Regions from separate parts of the Homo sapiens genome. Here all the other regions are linked to region 1. The links are contacts of gene promoters, found by promoter capture Hi-C in blood cells and fetal thymus (Javierre and others, 2016). All regions are on one chromosome and are shown on one strand. The core of a region is centred on a gene start or on the middle of the fragment in contact, and the rest is flanking DNA. Distances in the headings are between cores, read along the strand shown.

Region 1 (2,728 bases), core at 67-2,566:
TCAGGAGTTTGAGACCAGCTTGGCCAACACAGTGAAACCCCATCTCTACTAAAAATTCAAAAATTAACCGGGCGTGGTGGCTCATGCTACTTGGGAGGCTGAGGCAAAAGAATCGCTTTAACCCAGGAGGTGGAGATTGCAGTGAGGTTCATCCTGGGTCACAGAGCTAGACTACGTCTCAAAAAAAAAAAAAAAAAAAAAAAAAAAAAGCTAGGTTCCTGAGGGACACAGGAAGTAGTAGAAGTTGTAAAGGTCATGACGAGATATGAGTCTGAAGAGCAGGCCATTCAATGAAATACAACATTCACATCAAGTGAATCACTCACATCGTCTTGGTGTGGTGGCTCATGCCTGTAATCCCAGCACTTGGGGAGGCTGTGGTGGGAGGATTGCTTGAGCCCAGGAGTTCCAGACCAGCTTGGGCAACACGGCAAGATCCCCGTCTCAAAAAAAAAAAAAAATCACTCACATCAAGTGTACCCAACAGATATCCATTCCCTTCGTACATCTGAACACATCTTGATATTAACGGTCGCAAGCAAACCCTAATATTTTATATCTCTAGAACAAATATAGTATCCCCATTTCACAATCGGGAAAACAGACTCCCAGAAGCTAAGTAACTTGTTTATTGTCAGACATCTAGTGAGTCGCAGAGCCAGGGAACTGACCACGGGCATTTTCACCCCATTACCCTTCCAGCTTATTGCCGACTGCTCCCGAAGGGAGCGAAAAGGACAGGCAAAGGGTTTCACCAAACCCTTTGTAATGGGAGATTCTTGCCTTCTTACCTTTCCTCACGTTTGCTTCTCTGCCAGAATGTCTTCCCGCACTTTCCCCAGAACCCAAGTTCTCCTAATCATCTTTCAAGATCCCTTTCCCTCAACCACAGATGAGCCGTGCCTATTTCTCCTTCAAATGACTCCCTATGGCTTCTAGTTGGTAGTCTTTTATTTACCACCTCATAGTCCTTTTATTTATATCCCATAAATGATCGTCCGGCCCCGCACCGTGGGACCAGGACGCTGCCTCGACCATGGCGGTCTCCTGGAAACAGGCTGCTTTGAGCCGAAACTGGTGACCGTTTCCCAACCCCGTCCAGGAGTCCGACGCCTCTTTTCTCCAGGCCAACTTCAAGTGAGGTGTATCAACTCTATCCGCACAAATTTCTTGCCACGAGAGCAGAAGATTATGATCTCTGATGCTGCCTTAGGGCTGAAGACACTCCCAACTCGGCGACGCTTAGCAATCATCGACTTCCTCCTCCTCTTGGCTGCCTCGGAGATCCTGTTCCGGGGCAGAGGTCTCCCCGCCCCGCCCCTCGTCTCCTCCAAGATGGCGAGCGGCGGCAGCGGGGGGGTGTCAGTACCTGCGCTGTGGAGTGAAGTGAACCGGTATGGCCAGAACGGCGACTTCACGCGCGCTCTCAAGACCGTCAATAAGAGTAAGTGTCGGGGTGGGCACTGGGGCGGGCCCAGGCCGGCTGGAGGATGCGGCCTGTTTCCGGCGCGCGAGACCACCTCGCGCGGGAGGCACGGGAAGGGGAGACCCCCGAAACCCCCCCGTCTATTGTCCGCCCGGCTCGGGCCCTAGCGCCCGGAAGACGCAGGTCTCACTCCTCGGCTTCACCAGGCCAGCCTGGGGTCCCTGGTTGCTTACAGCCACGTGTACTTCTCTTTTTACCCTCCGCGGGAAGCGAGGGAAGGTTTTAAAGAGACCGCAGCTCCCGGAGTCCATTTCAAACTGTTTTCTTATTTGACTCCTTTGCTGCTTTATTTCACAAATATTCCAAAGTGCCTCCTTTTCTTCTTCGTCTTGAGCGCAGTGATCAGGACTCTATTGCTGAGGGAGCTTGTTCTCTTTGGCCGCTAAAGGGGGAGGAACCTGCTTGGGACACGTAGTTTAGAGGCTGGTGCTAACCAGGTGGAAGCTGTACGGGTTCTACGGGGCGAGAGGAAAGGGCTGGATCTGGATGTCAGGCCTGTCATTCCCATAGATGAGATCTCTTCAGTGTTATTAAGTTAGGAAATATGTGTGTGGAAGCACCAACACTTGAAATAATGTCGGAAGAAAAGTTTGGCCTGTTTTTTTGCCCTGTAAGGGATGATTTCGGTTTTTACCGCCTTTGGTGTGAGGTTTAATTCATCATATTCTTTTGTTCCTTACTACATACCTGGAATATGGCCATGCTGCTTAATGTTCTCGGTGGTGCGCAGTTCTTCTCTACTGAAGATACAGCCTGTGCATGTTAGATTTGGAAATGTAATTACCAAGGCAGGGCTTAGCTGTTCAGAGTAGCAGTAACCTAAAAGGTGTGTCAGTAACATGCAAAGCTATCTAAGTAATTTTCAACACTCTAGTACTGGGTTAACGTGAAAAGTAGTGATTGTGCCCACAGTGCACTTTTGGTGATTTCAGACATTGAGGAAAATAGCTACGAATTAGAATTATTTGATCCCTAAATTTGTTTGAATTAACTCTAGCCTTCCAACCAGTACTGTATACTTAGTATAGTATTTTGCAGGAATTCTTTAATCAGCAAAGATTGTCAACTTGTTTACCAGTATGTTTTCTTAATTGGTAGAAATTCTTGTGATTCTTTGAGAATTGGACTTCTGTAGTTGCACAGGAGCAAGAGTAACTATGATCCTGGTCATTTTAACACCGAACAGTTGTTAGCGTTGAAACTTGCCACCTGAGTTCTTCCTTATACTTTGGTCATCTTAGT
Region 2 (2,728 bases), core at 79-2,578, 930 kb before region 1:
AAACCAGAAAAAGAAAACAAATTAAACCCAAAAGTAAGCTGAGGAAAGGAAATAAAGACCAGGGCGGAAATAAGAAAACCACAGGCAGTCAATTAAACTAAAAGTTAACTTTTTAAGAACCTCAATAAAATTAATAAACTTCTAGCCAGACTAATCAGGGAAAAGGGGAGCAGAGACAAATTACTAGTATTCGGAATGATACTAAATCTCTACAGGTTATACAGATATTAGACTCATTACACTTTCTACAGATATTAAAAGAACAATAATAGAGTATTATAAGCAACTTTTTGCAATAAATGCAACAAGTTAAATGAAATGGGTAAGTTCCTTCGAAAACTTATCAGGCATGTGAAGAGACGGAACAATACAACCATATGACCAATAACCAACAGAAAAACAAACAAGATAAACAGACCAATAGATGATGCCGATATTGGAAAAGACAAGCATTTAAATAACTATAATTAGTATGTTCAAGAGAACTGGAGTCTATTACAAGTCTATAAAACAACATCAAAGGAATACTCTAGAACTCAAAACCACAATGTAAAATTAAGAACACAAAAGATTATTTTGACAAAAAGAGAAGATAGTTTTGGCATACTGGAAGGCAGGTCGATAGAAAATATCCAAACAGAGAAAAAAATTTTTTTCAACATGTGGAACATGATAATTAAGTTTAATATATGTGTAATTAGGATCCAAAAAGAAAAAAGGGGCAGAATATATGAAAAGGTGGTAACAGAACTTTCCAAAACTAAAAGGCATCCAGCTAGATTCAAAAAACTCTATAAACATAAAGCAACAAAGAAAACCACATCTGAACACATCAAAGTGCTTTAAAAGTAACACAGAGAGTCTTAAAATTAGCCAAGGAAAAATAAAAGACACATTATCCTCAGCAAGAATATAGCTAATACATTGCCTTCAATAAGACTGGTAGCTGACTTCAACAAAAAGAAAGGAAGACAGAAAGCAACCAAACATTCTTAATGTGTTGAAAGAAAATAACTACCAACTTAGAACTTAATAGCCAGTGAAAACACACTTCAGGCCAGCCACAGTGGCTCATGCCTGTAATCCTAGCACTTTGGGAGGCCAAGGTGGGCAGATCACTTGAGGCCATGAGTTTGGAGACCTGCGTGGCCAACATGGCAAAATCCTATCTCTACTAAAAATACAAAAAATTTAGCTGGGTATGGTAGCACATGCCTGTAATCCCAGCTACTCAGGAGGCTGTGGCATGAGAATCATTTGAACCCAGGAGGCAGAAGCTGCAGTGAGCTCAGATCACGCCACTGCACTCCAGCCTAAGCAACAGAACGAGACTGTCTCAAAAAAACAACAACAACAACAACAAAAAAAACACCAAAAACCACTTCAAAAAAGGTGAAACTGCCGTGCATGGTGGCTCACACCTATACCCAGCACTTTGGGAGGCCAAGGTGGGGGGATCTCTTAAGCCCAGGAGTTCAAGAACAGCCGGGGCAACATGACAAGACCCCGCCTATACAAAAAATTTAAAAATTAGCTGGGCATGGTGGCATGTGCCTGTGGTTCCAGCTACTGAGGAGGCTGAGGTGAAGGATTGCCTGAGCCCAAAAGGTTGAGGCTACAGTGAGCCATGTTCACACCACTACACTCCAGCCTGGGTGCCAGAGTGAGACCTTGTCTCAAAAAAAAAAAAAAAAAAAAAAAAAAAAGGTGAAATTGAGATATTTTCAGAGAAACAAAAATAGAAAAAATCACTGATACTAGGTAGGCCAGTATCAAAATGCATGATATAGGGAAGTGACAGTATTATTATCCTAAAAATTGAAAACAACTTCAATGTCCAACAGAAGATTGATAAGTAAATTATTACACAGAGATGAGAATGTTACATACCTACTAAAAATAATCACATAGCAGAAAAATACTGACATGAAAATATGTTGATGATTCACTGTTAACTGAACAGCTTGCACTGCAGTGGACTACATTAGGAGCCCATAACATCATATAAGTATACATATACTTATGTAATGGCTCAACAAAATGCAGGAAGCAGATAGATAATCAAGAAGATTAACAACAGCACTTTCGGTGGTATGATCTCCAATGATATTAATTTTTTTTTTTTTTTTTTGAGACTGAGTCTTGATCTGTCGCACAGGCTGGAGTGCAATGGCGTGATCTCTGCTCACTGCAACCTCTGCCTCCTGGGTTCAAGCAATTCTCCTGCCTTAGCCTCCCAAGTAGCTGGGATTACAGGCACCCGCCACCATGCCCGGCTAATTTTTGTACTTTTAGTAGAGACAGGGTTTCACCATGTTGGCCAGGCTGGTCTCAAACTCCTGACCTCAAGTGATCCACCCACCTCAGCCTCCGAAAGTGCTGGGATTACAGGTGTGAGCCACTGTGCCCTGCCTAAAATGTAATCTATGCTTTCTTACTGTTTCCCACATTAGGGATGTGCTATTTTTTAATTGGGGGCAAGAGAGGAGGGGAGAGGAGGGGAGGGGAGGGGAGGGGGGAATGGAGAAAGGCAACTCTTTACATTAAACCATATTTTAATACAAATGATAAGTTCTTAGCTAGGCATATGGTCTAACCTTTATTGGTATATCCCCCATGTGTGCTTTTTAATTTTTTTTTGATACCAAAACCTGCCAACATGAATCAACCTGTACTTTCATTTTCCACTATTTGGACCTTGAGAGCTTGCTCGAAGGTTCTAGCAGGG
Region 3 (2,728 bases), core at 90-2,589, 600 kb before region 1:
GTTCAGTGCCAAAGAATAGCATTTGTGTGTATGTGTGTGGTTTGAAAAAAATAAAAATAGGGATGAAGTATAAAGAGAGAAATGTGGCTGAAATATGTGAATCATTTACCAAAGAAGAGTGGAGTGAGTGTGGTGAAAACAGGAGAGCCAGAGAAAAAGATCTGTGACTTCTTTGCTAAAATGTTTTAGAATAGACCTTTTTGTTTTGTGTGCAGTTTTTGAGTGTAATTCAAATGCACAGCACCTGCTGGGGCAGTGGCTTACACCTGTAATCTCAACACTTTCGGAGACTGAGGCGAGCAGATCACCTGAGGTCAGGAATTCGAGACGAGCCTGGCCAACATGGCAAAACCACATCTCTACTAAAAAAAAAAAAATTAGCCAGACATGGTGGCATGCTCCTGTGGTCCCAGCTACTTGGGAGGCTGAGGCACAAGAATCGCTTGAACCTGGAAGACAGAGGTTGCCGTGAACTGAGATCGTGCCACTGCACTCCAGCTTGGGTGACAGAGTGACACTCTGTCTCAAAACAAAACAGAACAAAACAAAAAAATCAAACACACCGCATCTCTTATGCTAGAGTAATCTAAAATCATTTGGGTTTGTTCTGGTTTTAAGAAAAGGTAAGCATTTAAGAAATCCCTCAGAGGATAAGGAACATTTTAAAGACTTAAATTTTAGTGTTGTATACATGAAAGGTACAGAAGTTATGGGGTCTGACTCAGGCCCAGAGAGATTATATGAATAGTCCAGGCTTACAAGTTTACAGAGTTCACTGAAAGCAAAGCCTAGAAATGATTTTAAGATGTTAAGGAAGAAATCCTGGGCAGATTCAAACCCCAGCTCTGTTACTTAAGAGATGTCAGTGGCTTCTGAACCCTTCTGACTCTTAAAGTCGTATTGCACTTACATTTTATTTACTGTGGATAGTATGTAAATAACGTGTGAAACCACAGCGTCAGCTGTACAATGATATCCTTTAAATTTCTGGTCCAGGTTTTTCATCGTACCATGTTACTTGCCTTCTTAATATGGCTTAGTGATTTATATTTTTTGTTCTAATTAATATGGTATATATGTTCCAAGTCAGCATATTGCTTTGCAGTTTAATTTTGGATTTGGCAGTTTCCTTATTTCAGGGAATTCAGAATCAATAGTCAGAATCATTTAGAAAATAGTGATAAGGGGATGGTGGTTTGTTACTGCTTTGCCTGGGGAAGAAAAAAAAAACAGTTGAAAGAGAAAAGAAAAAAGATGATAGAAGGAGCTATCGGCCGTATGCTCTTCTACATCCTGTTACTAGTTCCCATCATACTACAGTTATAAATTAGTTTCATATATCCTTCAGAGTCTGGTATACCACTGCTGCTTTCTCAACTAAGATATCACATAGGTGATTATGCTTTTATTTAGGGTTTCACATAGGTGTTAAGAAAATTTCTAGCTGGTAGAATTGGAGGAAATGTTAGAGATAACATGGCCTAATGCCTCCTAAATGTATAGAAATGAGAATGTGCCATTACCAGTGATACTTTCTGGCACCTTACTTGTGCATTCTGGAACCTTACTTGTGCAGTCTGTGGAAATATAAAATCCTAAGGCATGGTCCCTAACATTGATTTAGAGGCAAGTGTACCTGCATGAAATACTGTGTAAAACATGGAAGAACATAAAGTGATAAACTGAAGTAGATGTGTAGGTATATATCAATTTTTGTTATGCTACTTTCAAGGAAATTTAGCAACATTTCACCTTTATTCTTTTACACATCTAAATAACAAGTATGTTTTTTGTTTGTTTGTTTGTTTGTTTGTTTGTTTTGGTCTTTAACTTTGTAGGCTAACATCCAGTCAATCATGGCATCTGAAAAACAAGTCAACATCCTGATGAAATTGCTAGATGAGGCTCTAAAGGAGGTAGATCAGATTGAATTGAAACTGAGCAGTTATGAGGAAATGCTCCAAAGTGTAAAAGAACAAATGGATCAGATCTCTGAAAGCAACCACCTAATTCATCTTAGTAACACTAATAATGTAAAACTCCTATCTGAGATAGAGTTCCTTGTGGTAAGTATGATCATAAATTACCAACAAAAAAAAACTAGTGATGATATATAAAACCCATTTGTAAACATTTTTTAATTTCCTTGTGAGAACAGGATTTAAAATAATTCCAAAGACCTAATGATAGGACTGAATAGCATCTTGCCTGTAAATTTCCCAAAATTACACATGCAAATGGTGTGTTTGCATATATTCTAGAACCACATGGACTTGGCCAAAGGTCATATAAAGGCCCTTCAGGAAGGAGATCTTGCTTCTTCCAGAGGCATTGAGGCCTGCACCAATGCTGCTGATGCCCTTCTGCAGTGCATGAATGTAGCTCTTCGACCAGGTATGTTCATTAGAAATGACAAAAATGTGACCAAGAATGTGAGACTAAGCCTGTAACTTGTTATAAAGGTTTTGACAAGAAATACATGAGACAAGTGGTTTAAGGGTTACATTATTAGCTATTCAAGTTTCACTGATTTCCCAACTTATTTCTATTGATACTAGGAACTTTTTTACTTCAGTTCCTCCTTCTAATTGTCCTCAATGACTATAGTCAACACCATGATCTTTATTTAGTACTATCCACAGAACCCAGCAGAAAGTAGGTGCTTTGGTTAGACGAGAGCAATTATTTCAAAACTTGAGTGTCCGTCAGAATCCCTAGAGGTCTTGTT
Region 4 (2,728 bases), core at 74-2,573, 590 kb after region 1:
TAATCTCAGGCTTTTAGTTTAAGGCAAATTCATCTAGTTATGGAAGCTACTGTTAGTCATTTCCACTTTAGTGTGAATGAAGAACCAATAGTTTATAATAATGGGACCCTGCCAAACACTGTTTAGGGCAAAAGTGTGTAAGAACTGCTTCCTCTTCTCTAAATATAATCTGTTGGGGTGGTGTTGGGGAGGCTTAGCGCATTAAGAGTAAGAACAAAATGCTGGGAGGTAATAGACTATAGTGACTTTGGAGCGTGGACTTGGAATCAGGAATTCTGCTCTACCACTCCTGAGTTATGCAACATTGCACAAGTTATTTCACTTCCCCTGCTTTATTCATCTGTGAAATGGAATGATAGTATCCCAGTCATTAGACCATCAAAAGGATCAAACAAGATACAGCCATTAGCACAGTACCTGGCATGGGGTAAACATTCAGTAAGTATGAGCTGTTGCTTTTCATTTCAGAAATTAGACTTTCATCAAGGAAGGTGAAAGACAGGGACCTGCCTGAGGAGAGGCAGGAAAACGCTGGCCTGCCTTGAATAGTGAGCATGCGGGCCAGCTCGGGAAGAGGATTCGTGTGTGGTGTAGGGCACAGCAGAAAGCAGATGAGGTGGGGCCTCACCCTCCAATGTGTCTCTGAAAGTGGGAGTGTCATGATTCAAGTGGCATTTCCCAAGATGATTTTGGAGGTCTCCGCATCAGGATGGGACATGGCGGGGATTAAGGCTCTAACTCAAGGTCGCAGCAATGAGAAGACAGAGAAAAGGGGAAGACTTGGGGGATTATTCAGGAAGAACTAACACTACCCAGTAACTGACTGGATGTAGGAAAGAGAGGCATGATTTAAAGGCTGTGAGCCTCAAAGGTTCCAGGAGGCTGCCGCACCATGAACAGAAGCAGGGGTGTCAGTCTGAGGAAGGTGCTGGATTGAAGAAGGGGAAAGGGTGGACTTGGGTTTAAATTTGCTGAATTTCAGGTATCACCTGGGCCATGAGGAGGCACTGAACCCCAGTGGGGAGACCAGAAGTGCCAAGGCAAGCACTGTCTAGCTGACATTTTAGCCCTGGGAAGGCTATGTGGGGTCCTTTGGGTGGAAGGAAGACAGATTTGGCACTCCCTCTCACTAGTTTCTCCAGAGGGAGTTCCATCAGCTCACTGCTGACCACCTGGCCCGTCCCCACCCCACCCCAGGTAAAGCAGATAAGTGAATAGCACGGCCTTGCTTAGCTTCCAGGCACGTATTTGCAGGGCCAGTCCATCTAAGAGCAGACCATTCAATACAATGCTGCCCTGGTGACCGCGTGCCCAGGTCTTGTGAGTTGAGTTCCTGGCTGATTGCTAGTTACCTCTGGATTAATAAGACACCTCGTTTTGGGTCCAATCTTTGATGCTGAGAATCTTCGTAGGGAGCATGAAGTCTGTTTTTCTCAAGTGGACATAGTACTCAAATATCTCACTACGATGACTGTCAATCTTGTGATATCTCACAATTATCACTGTAATTTTGAATTGACCACAGAACATGCACAGAAAGTTGCTTCTTGCAATGTGTTGGTTGCTTGCAAACAAATCTCTTATTTGATGATGCTTTCTTTTCTATCTTTTTTTTTTTTTTTGAAATGAAGTCTTACTCTGTCGCCCAGGCTGGAGTGCAGTGGTACAATCTCGGCTCACTGCAGCCCCTGCCTCCCAGGTTCAAGCAGTTCTCCTGCCTCAGCCTCCAGAGTAGCTGATACTACAGGCACACACCATCACACCTGGCTAATTTTTGTAATTTTAGCAGTGATGGAGTTTCACCATGTTGATCAGGCTGATCTCGAACTCCTGACCTCAGGTGATCTGCCCGCTTCGGGCTCCCAGGGTGCTGGGATTATAGGCGTGAGCCACCGCACCTGGCCCTTGATGATGTTTTCTTATTCTTGTCCCCTTCCTTGTATGGGTCTAGCATTAAAAAAAAGTGGGGTACTGACAAAGAGTCTGACTCCAGGGTGTGGTTCTTGCCCATGGTGGTTCTGGTACATGTGGTCTGGTGTCATTCTTGAAGGGACCCTGCTACTGCCATGAAGCAAATCCATGAAGGACTTGAAACCATGTTCAGGTGTGCAAGATGGTGAGCTCGCTCTGGTAACCATGTGATAGATGAGGTAACATGGGGCTGTGCCAACAACATTGCCCAGGGATGAGCTAACGTATTCAGCAGAGCTCCCCTAGGAAGCTGGAATACCTACACTATCATCCTAATACCAGACTGGCTGAGGTCCACACAAGTTGAATCAGCAGGCTAGGTTTTGAATTGGTTTGAGGACCTGGAAGAACTGACTTTATAGAGAGTGCTTTCCCGAGACGAAACTCCCTAGTGATGTTAACATAGCCTTGGAAACACATTTTTTCCACATCTCATGGGCCTGTCCTGTCTGGACTATGACTCACCTTAAATACAAGATATTAAATGTTTTTGCTAGCGCTTTCTTATTCTGCAAGCACTGAATTGGGTGGGAAGTTCCCATAGGAAACTTATTGCTAACCACGTGGATGGTCACACCTGATTCTGGGATTCCTAGAAGCCTAGATAGTGAGTTTCCCTAGGAAATTTCTCCTTCTTTTCTTGGGATGAGATCTTGTTACATTGCCCAGGTTGGTCTTGGACTCCCAGGAGTCCAAGCTCAAGCCATCCTCCTGCCTCAGCCTCCTGAGTGGCTGAGACTACAGGTGAGCAACCACC
Region 5 (2,728 bases), core at 123-2,622, 570 kb before region 1:
CCTTTAACTGGATAAAAGATCTATCTCAGGCCTAAAGCTTACATGATACTTAACTGCAACGTTAGAGACATTCCCTCTGAAATCAATTTAAAGCAGAAATATTGTTAGATCCTTTATTATTTAGCATTGTTGTTGAAGCACTAGCCAGTTCAACAAGACCTGAAACATAAATAAGAGATATGGAAAACAGAGACGAGATTATCACCACCTGTATATGATATGTTGAAATTACTGGTGTTGGTCAAGTGACAAAATTTAAAGCAAATATACTGAAAAACAATGTATTTCCTGTCTACCAATTAAGAGCTTATGTAAAAACAAAATTTTTAAAGCACTAAGAATAACTTCTCAAAGAATGATAATTTAATGAATAATCACTAAGAAAATTTTAGAAAAAAGTAATGAGAGGGAATGGGGTTTGTCAGCATTAATTCTTTGTATCGTGCTCAAATACAGTTATGCCAGTCAATAAAAGTATATATATAAAAGAAGACCTGGGAATAATAGTTACAATAATATAACAGAGTCAGTATATTTAATATAAAAAATCTTACTAAAATCAATAAGAAAAGCACTAAGACCCCAATTTATAAATGGGGCAAGGGGCTGAATCACTACTAAACATATAAAAGCAGGTTAACCTTATTTATAGCCAAAGAATTATAAAATAAAATGACAAACTTTTTTTACTCTGGCAACTATTGTTATAAATTGTCATAATGCTTATGATGGTATAGTGAAGTAGCAACCTCATACACTGTTGACAGAAATATAAATTGGTTGAGCTTTCCTAGGAAGCAGTTTGTATATATACTGAAGAATCTTTCAAATACTTAAAGTTATGCTCTTCAACAGAGTAATTATAGTCCTGGAAATTTAATCAGTAAGATGGGTAAATACTTATATACAAAAAAAATTTATGACAAATATATTTATAGTAGATTTTCTAAAGTCTCACTAGATTTGCCAAGTCCAAAAAAAGAAGGGGGAGTGGGATGTTAAATATCTAGTACTAGAGGAATGAATAATAATTGTGGTTCAGTCATTGTGTGAAATATTATGCAGCCATTAAAATTTATATTTAGGAAAAAACAATATTAAATGTAAAGTGGGACATGAAATTTTAATCTCCTGTATGTATTCACACATCAAAAGATTACAAGGAACTCTACAATATTAACAATGTTCATCTCAGAAGTATGTTAATAAGTGATTGTTATTTTATTGTTTATACTTTCACACACTGATTTTTGCATGGTGATTATACACTACTTTGTAATCAGATTTTTTTAATGTAAATAATAATAAATGCAGGTCTTAGCCATTGTTTCTTTTCATTTCCTTGAAGCATTTCTTTGAAGGTGTTGAAGCTCGCGTGGCACAGGGCATAAGGGAGGAGGAAGTAAGTTACCAACTTGCATTTAACAAACAAGAACTTCGTAAAGTCATTAAGGAGTACCCTGGAAAGGAAGTAAAAAAAGGTCTAGATAACCTCTACAAGAAAGTTGATAAACATTTATGTGAAGAAGAGAACTTACTTCAGGTATGCTTACTTCTTTTGACCATCTGACTTAAAGATCCTTACATATATTGCTTTTCTTTAAATAATTTTCTAGAAATGCTACAGATCTAGAGCAGGAGGAGAGTTCCATTAGAGTACAGACCAGATTAATGAATTGTGAGGAAGAAAGGAATACTGTTTATATAAGCATATATGGCTATTTCTGCTTATTTCGTATTTCTGCTATATTATGGTGAGGCATTAAGTTTGTTTTTCTTTGGTTGGTTGGTTGGTTGGTTGGTTGGTTGGTTGAGTGGTTGGAATTAGAGATGGGTTCATAATCTGGCTCCAGATTAAGCTGTGTGACTTTGGGAAGTTACTTAACCTCTCTGAGCCTTAGTTTCCTTATTTGATAAGTGGAAACGATACATCTCTTGTACAGTAGCCACTGTATTGGGCAACATAGCAAGACCTTGTCTCTACTAAAAATTAAAAAAATTAGCTGGGCATGGTGGCACGTGCCTGTAGTCCCAGCTACTCGGGAAGCTGAGGCAGGAGGATCACTTGAGCCCAGGAGATTGAGGCTCCAGTGAACTATGATCCTACCACTGCACTCCAGCCTACGCAACAGAGTGAGGCCGTGTCTCAATTAAAAAAAAAAAAAAAAAGAAAGAAAGAAAGAAAAAGAAAGAAAGAGAAAGAAAGAAAATCAGCTTAGAGAGGTGGAGTAATAGGACCAAGCTCTCTTAACTAATGGGTAGTGGAGCCAGATTTAAAGTCCAAATTAGGCCATTATTCTTTATAAACCATATTGAAAGGCCCAGATATGAGTGAGAGTAATTCTGATTTCAACATCATGGAAGACTTCCTGAGGGATATTGCATTGTTTGTTTTAACCTCTGAAAGTCAGATGTACTTGAACAGGCAAAGTGGGGATGGAGGGAGTAGCATTCTAGAAAGAAATAATATGAGCTAAACGATGAAAAGTAAAAAGCATAACACTGCTTAGGGAATAGCGATTGGTCTTAAGTTGGCAGGAATTTAGGATTTATGAGATTTAGGATTTACAAGAAAAAATCTTGGAAGAATACATTCCCTCAGCTGTCAAATAGGGAAGATGATCATAATACCCACCCTCACCAGGTCATCATGAGACTTAATACTATAATATATTCATAAAGTGCTTTGTACTGTGCTGATAAAGAGTAAGCTTCAATTAATGTAATC
Region 6 (2,728 bases), core at 116-2,615, 550 kb before region 1:
AGCACCTGGCAAGACGTTTTCAGAATTCAACATATTTGGAGGCAGAAGGGTAGAAAGGAGGGAGTCTACAGTGCCCAGAGCATGAAGGATTTGTATACGGCAGAGGGGTAGAGATTTGAGAGTCGTTACCATAGGTACAGTAGCAGAAATCACAGAAGTCTATTCGGTTGCTCAGTGTATTATACTAAGAAGAGAAGAGCTCTGAAGCTGGAACTCTGGGGAGTGCCAAAATTTAGAGAGGATAAGGAGCTCACAATGGAGGTTGGCCAAGAGTGACCAAAGATATAAGAGGTAGTTGGGAGAGATTGTGTTACAGGGACCAAGAGAAGAACACGTTCCAGAAAGAAAAGTGTGATCCACAGTGTCCAATAGTGGTTAAATAAGACAAGGATGGAAAGAGTCCACTAAAATTGGCATTTGGTTGGTCATTGCTGACCTTGGTCAAGGCATATCAGTGCTTCAGTAGCAGAGAGAAAGCCTGATTGTGGTAGAATTAAGTGCAAAGGTGCATAGGAAGCTTTAGGTATTAAGGAACCACTCTTCCCTGAAGCTCGATCATGAAGAAAAGAACAGTATTCACAGCACTTTGGGAGGCCAAGGCGGGCGGCTCATGAGGTCAGGAGACAGAGACCATCCTGGCCAACATGGTGAACCCTGTCGCTACTAAAAATACAAAAATTAGCTGGGCGTAGTGGCATGTGCCTGTAATCCCAGCTACTCAGGAAGCTGAGGCAGGAGAATCGCTTGAACCAGGGAGTCAGAGGTTGCAGTGAGCTGAGATCACATCACTGCTCTCCAGCCTGGTGACATAGTGAGACTCCATCTCAAAAAGAAAAAAAAAACAAAGAAGGAAAAGAACAGTAGTAACCCAGATTGATACCCAGGGTCAAAGCCAGGATTTTATTTAAATGACCTCAAGCACTTGTATCTGTCAGAGTTCAGTGAAGAAAATCAAAAGCATTCTAGGTATTTGAAGAATTTAGGCCAGGCAAGGTGGCTCACACCTGTAATCCCAGCACTTTGGGAGGCCGAGGCAGGCAGATTGCTTAAGCACAGGAGTTTGAGACCAGCCTAGGCAACATGGCAAAACTCCATCTCTAATAAAAATACAAAAAAAAAAAAAAAATTACTGGTGTAGTGGTGCCCGTCTGTAATACCAGCTACTCAGGAGGCTGAAATGGGAGGATTGCTTGAGCCCAGGAGGTCAGGGTTGCAGTGAGCTGTGATCATGCTGCTCCACTCCAACCTGGCTGACAGAGAAAGACCCTGTCTCAATAATAATAATAATAAAAATAAAAATTCATGAAATATCAGTGGAAGTGCTGGAGGGCCAGAAGTCAAAGGGCCATCACTGAACTTTTGGCTTCAAGATGCCATCACTACTGCTACAATCCATGGCTTCCACCACTGCTACCACTGTAGCTGCCACACCATAGTCTCCCTGCTCCACCTCTGAGATAGCAAAGGGGAAAAGGACGACAGCTGGTTTAGATTTTTTGAGCTGGTTTAGATGACCGTGGATGTGGAAGCAGGAAGTGAAGACGTGCTCCTTCCCATATGTAGCAACCCAAACATATACTGGTTAGAAACAGAGCCCTGTTTCCAAATGGATAGTCGTATGTGATTATCCCAGAGCACCGTGTACCAAGCACTGCAGTCAGAATGTACTCTCTGGTTTAATTTTCACAACAAGAGCACTAGGGGAAGTCAGCTGCCCATGTAAGCAGTTTTCCAAGTCACATGGCTAAGAAGTGATGCAGCCACAATTCCAACCCTGGCTTGTCTGACTTCAGCTGTGCTTCCCTGGCACGGTCACCAAGCAAAGACATTTGCTACCTGCCCACTTGGGACAAAGCAGAGAAGAAGGGCTTTTATTTTCAACCGACCTTCCAAGAAATTGGTTTAGAATACTCCAAAATGACCTTGGAAAGAGCCCTGCTCACCAGTCCTGGAAACTAGACATAAACTGGGTCCTGTTTCTTATGTCTATGCCAACAATTGATTCACTGGATTGGCATTTCTCATCCCCAATTTAATCGGCCTGTCAAAGTTATGTCTTCTTTAATTTAAAAAAGAATCATATTACTACTTTTTAAGACATTGACAAATCCAATTGATCAATCACCACTGCATTCCATGTTACTCTATCACATTAGAGAGCAGAGGCTGTATTGGCTATGCTTTATGACACATCAAAAATAAAATAAGACATGAAAGCTTTGAACATTACTGCTATGGTATCAGTCACATGAAAACAGGAAAGCCGTGATAAAATGCCTTGTCATCATCTAATATCTTCACTCTATTACTCAGTGTAAGGTCACTTATATATGAAGCACTTTTATAGGAAGCAATTAAAAGAAACCTGTAAATAAAACCTCATAGGCCGGGCACAGTGGCTCACACCTATAATCCCAGCACTTTAGGAGGCCGAGGTGGGAGGATTGCTTGAGCCCAGTAGTTCAAGACCAGCCTGGGCAGCACAATAAGACCTCATTTCTACCAAAAAAAAAATTGTTTAATTAGCCGGGCTTGGCAGCAGGTGCCTGTGGTCCCAGCTACTCAAGAAGCTGAGGTGGGAGAAACACTTGAGCTGGAGAAGTCAAGGCTGCAGTGAGCTGCGATTGTGCCACTGCACTCCAGCCTGGGTGACAGAGCAAGACCCTATCCCCAAAAATAAATAAATAAAAATAAAAATAAATGCTGACAATTTAATATCTGTTCTATT
Region 7 (2,728 bases), core at 172-2,671, 540 kb after region 1:
ATAGATGTTTGAAAAATTATGCAGAGTGGTTTAGAAATAAGTTTTTTTTATAATTGTATTCTTAGAAAGTAAGAATAAATCTTGAAATCACATTGAAGGAAAAATGTTTATGGAAAAGAAGTTTGATAGGCATGTAAAATCAGAATGACTAATACTTGGTTTATTTTTTAGGGCCATGCTGTAGGACTTGTGAAGAATTTAGCCTTGATGGCGTATATTTCAGTTGGATCTCAACCATCTCCAATTCTGGAATTTTTAGAAGAATGGAGTATGGAAAATTTAGAAGAAATTTCTCCTGCAGCTATTGCTGAGTGTGTATAGATGGAATTAGTTTTTTAAACTATAGTTAATCTTTAGTTGTTGCTTAGTATAGAATTGTTAAGTGTAAAATGCTTTTGCTTTTTCATTGTAGTGCAACCAAGATTTTTGTTAATGGCTGCTGGGTTGGAATACATAAAGATCCCGAACAACTTATGAACACCCTAAGGAAATTGAGACGTCAGATGGACATCATTGTGTCTGAAGTAAGAATCTTTAGTTAAGAGGGTGTGGACTGTGAGATTTTTAAACAAGGCATAGGACTAGTGAAAGTTATCTTTGCATTGGCATCTTTTCTTTGAACTTTATTCCCTTGAACTGTAAAGTGTAAATTTAATTATAAGTTATTGCTAGGCCGGGTGCAGTGGCTCATGCCTGTAATCCCAGCACTTTGGGAGGCCGAGGCGCAGATCACCTGAGGTCAGGAGTTCAAGCGCAGCCTGGCCAATATGGCGAAACCCCATCTCTACTAAAAATACAACAATTAGCCAGGCACGGTGGCATGGGCCTGTAATCGCAGCTACTCGGGAGGCTGAGACAGGAGAATCACTTGAACCCGGGAGGCGGGGGTTATGGTGAGGTGAGATTGCACCTCTGCACTCCAGCCTGGGTGACAGAGTGGGTCTCTGTCTCAAAAAATAAAAAAAAGCCTGGGCATGGTGGCTCACGCCTGTAATCCCAGCACTTTGGGAGGCTAAGGCAGGCGGATCACAAGGTCAAGAGATTGAGACCATCCTGGCCAACATGGTGAAACCCTGTCTCTACTAAAAATACAAAAATTAGCTGGGCGTGGTGGCGCGCGCCTGTAGTCCCAGCTACTCAGGAAGCTGAAGCAGGAGAATTGCTTGAACCCAGGAGGCGGAGGTTGCAGTGAGCCAAGATCACACCACTGCACTCCAGCCTGGCGACAGAGCGAGACTCCATCTCAAAAAAAGAAGTTATTGCTTGCCTTAATCTTTCGATGCATGCTTCCAAAAATTTTGGCACATTTTAAATTATTAAATTATATTTTAGAACTCAAATTACATTTTAAAGTAAAAATTCTTTTGGGAATCTTTTTATAAAGCTGAGAATACTTTTTAAAAGGGAATAACCATCTGGGATTTATCCTTTGAATCCAGAGATTCATTAATAAAATGTGATATACCACTAATAGATTCTTTTATATTTTGGAGGATATTGAAGTGCTTTGGGATTAGGATGGGTTTTAAAAAAATCATTACAATAAGGCCGGGCCTGGTGGCTCATGCCTGTAATCCCAGCACTTTGGGAAGTTGAGGCAGGCGGATCACTTGAGGTCAGGAGTTTGAGACCAGCCTGGCCAACATGGCAAAACCCTGTCTCTACTAAAAATAAAAAAATCAGCTGGGCATGGTAGCATGTGCCTGTAGTCCCAGCTACTCGGGAAGCTGAGGCATGAGAATTGCTTAAATCCGGGAGGCAGAGGTTGCAATGAGCAGAGATTGCACCATTGTACTCCAGCCTGGGTGACAGAGTGAGACTCTGTCTCCAAAAATTTATTAAAAAAAAAAAAAATCATTACAATATATTGTGAACTTTATTACTCTCCCAAGTAAGGGTTTTAGTATACTGTTTGCGGAATGTAGTTCAGGCTTTTAATTTTCCCAAATCTATACCTTGGGTGAAAGTGGTTTTTGAGAGAAACTGAACACGCTTAGCCAGTAGCTGGTCTTTGTACCTAAAACAGCAGAGAAGAGAGTTTGGTTGTTCTGGGCCTTTTCCAGCAGCAGACCCTGAGTGTTTTTTTGTTATTGTTGTTGGGGGGCAGGGACAGAGTCTGGCTTTGTTGCCCAGGCTGGAGTAGAGTGTTGCTATCTTAGCTCACTGCAACCTCTGTCTCCCAGGTTCAAGAAATTCTCATGCCTCAGCCTCCTGAGTAGCTGGGATTACAGATGTGTACCACCATGCCCGGCTAATTTTTGTATTTCTATTTTTATTTTTTTGAGGTGGAGTCTCACTCTCTTGCTCAGGCTGGAGTGCAGTGGCATGATCTCGGCTCACTGCAACGTCTGCCTCCCGGGTTCAAGCAATTCTCCTGCTTCAGCCTCCTGAGTAGCTGGGATTACAGGTGCCTGCCACCATGCCTGGCTAATTTTTGTATTTTTAGTAGAGACTGGGTTTCTCCATGTTGGCCAGCCTGGTCTCGAACTCCTGACCTCAGGTGATCCACCTGCCTCAGCCTCCCAAAGTGCTGGGATTATAGACGTGAGCCACTGCACCTGGCCAATTTTTGTATTTTTGGTAGAGATGGGGTTTTGCCATAGTTGGCCAGGCTGGTCTTGAAGTCCTGGGCTCAAGCCATCTGCCTGCCTTGGCCTTCCAAAGTACTGGGATAACAGGTGTGAGCCACTGAGCCCAGCCTGGCCCTGGGTTTTGACCCAGGCTTATT

What was found. The method cuts DNA at HindIII sites, captures the fragments that hold promoters and counts their contacts. A CHiCAGO score of 5 or more calls a contact.
Region 2: a fragment that was not itself captured here is called in contact with the fragment with the promoter of SRP72 in region 1 in 1 of 17 cell types (total B cells); the score reaches 6.0 in total B cells.
Region 3: a contact is called between a fragment that was not itself captured here and the fragment with the promoter of SRP72 in region 1, in 1 of 17 cell types (neutrophils). The highest score is 6.8, in neutrophils.
Region 4: a fragment that was not itself captured here is called in contact with the fragment with the promoter of SRP72 in region 1 in 1 of 17 cell types (monocytes); the score reaches 5.0 in monocytes.
Region 5: a contact is called between a fragment that was not itself captured here and the fragment with the promoter of SRP72 in region 1, in 1 of 17 cell types (activated CD4 T cells). The highest score is 5.2, in activated CD4 T cells.
Region 6: a fragment that was not itself captured here is called in contact with the fragment with the promoter of SRP72 in region 1 in 1 of 17 cell types (neutrophils); the score reaches 5.4 in neutrophils.
Region 7: a contact is called between a fragment that was not itself captured here and the fragment with the promoter of SRP72 in region 1, in 5 of 17 cell types (monocytes, naive CD4 T cells, naive CD8 T cells and 2 more). The highest score is 10.3, in monocytes.

Annotation. Positions count from the first base shown.
Region 1 is chr4:56,466,301-56,469,028 of GRCh38, forward strand. SRP72 (signal recognition particle 72) reads left to right here and starts at 1,317. Exons shown (of 19, transcript NM_006947.4): 1 at 1,317-1,444. The coding sequence starts at 1,336. It overlaps LOC124900706 (a long non-coding RNA gene), which reads right to left and starts at 1,258. Exons shown (of 2, transcript XR_007058126.1): 1 at 792-1,258. RefSeq lists an enhancer at 1,162-1,371. The HindIII fragment of the contact is 5,513 bases long and covers 1-2,728 here.
Region 2 is chr4:55,537,895-55,540,622 of GRCh38, forward strand. All of the region lies in intron 1 of CLOCK (clock circadian regulator), which reads right to left. It also overlaps the pseudogene RN7SKP30. Among named protein-coding and RNA genes, the nearest start is that of CLOCK, 7.6 kb to the right of the region's middle. The HindIII fragment of the contact is 5,124 bases long and covers 1-2,728 here.
Region 3 is chr4:55,868,840-55,871,567 of GRCh38, forward strand. EXOC1 (exocyst complex component 1) reads left to right here. Exons shown (of 19, transcript NM_001024924.2): 6 at 1,839-2,066; 7 at 2,262-2,394. Among named protein-coding and RNA genes, the nearest start is that of EXOC1, 17 kb to the left of the region's middle. The HindIII fragment of the contact is 5,306 bases long and covers 1-2,728 here.
Region 4 is chr4:57,051,413-57,054,140 of GRCh38, forward strand. The region is part of intron 1 of IGFBP7 (insulin like growth factor binding protein 7); the gene reads right to left. Among named protein-coding and RNA genes, the nearest start is that of IGFBP7-AS1, 57 kb to the right of the region's middle. The HindIII fragment of the contact is 3,080 bases long and covers 1-2,728 here.
Region 5 is chr4:55,900,996-55,903,723 of GRCh38, forward strand. EXOC1 (exocyst complex component 1) reads left to right here. Exons shown (of 19, transcript NM_001024924.2): 18 at 1,349-1,543. EXOC1-AS1 (EXOC1 antisense RNA 1) reads right to left here. Exons shown (of 5, transcript XR_941069.4): 4 at 55-159. Among named protein-coding and RNA genes, the nearest start is that of EXOC1-AS1, 46 kb to the right of the region's middle. The HindIII fragment of the contact is 2,674 bases long and covers 36-2,709 here.
Region 6 is chr4:55,919,050-55,921,777 of GRCh38, forward strand. All of the region lies in intron 3 of EXOC1-AS1 (EXOC1 antisense RNA 1), which reads right to left. Among named protein-coding and RNA genes, the nearest start is that of EXOC1-AS1, 28 kb to the right of the region's middle. RefSeq lists an enhancer at 1,649-2,728. The HindIII fragment of the contact is 1,700 bases long and covers 516-2,215 here.
Region 7 is chr4:57,010,577-57,013,304 of GRCh38, forward strand. POLR2B (RNA polymerase II subunit B) reads left to right here. Exons shown (of 25, transcript NM_000938.3): 12 at 172-311; 13 at 413-524. Among named protein-coding and RNA genes, the nearest start is that of POLR2B, 33 kb to the left of the region's middle. The HindIII fragment of the contact is 8,493 bases long and covers 1-2,728 here.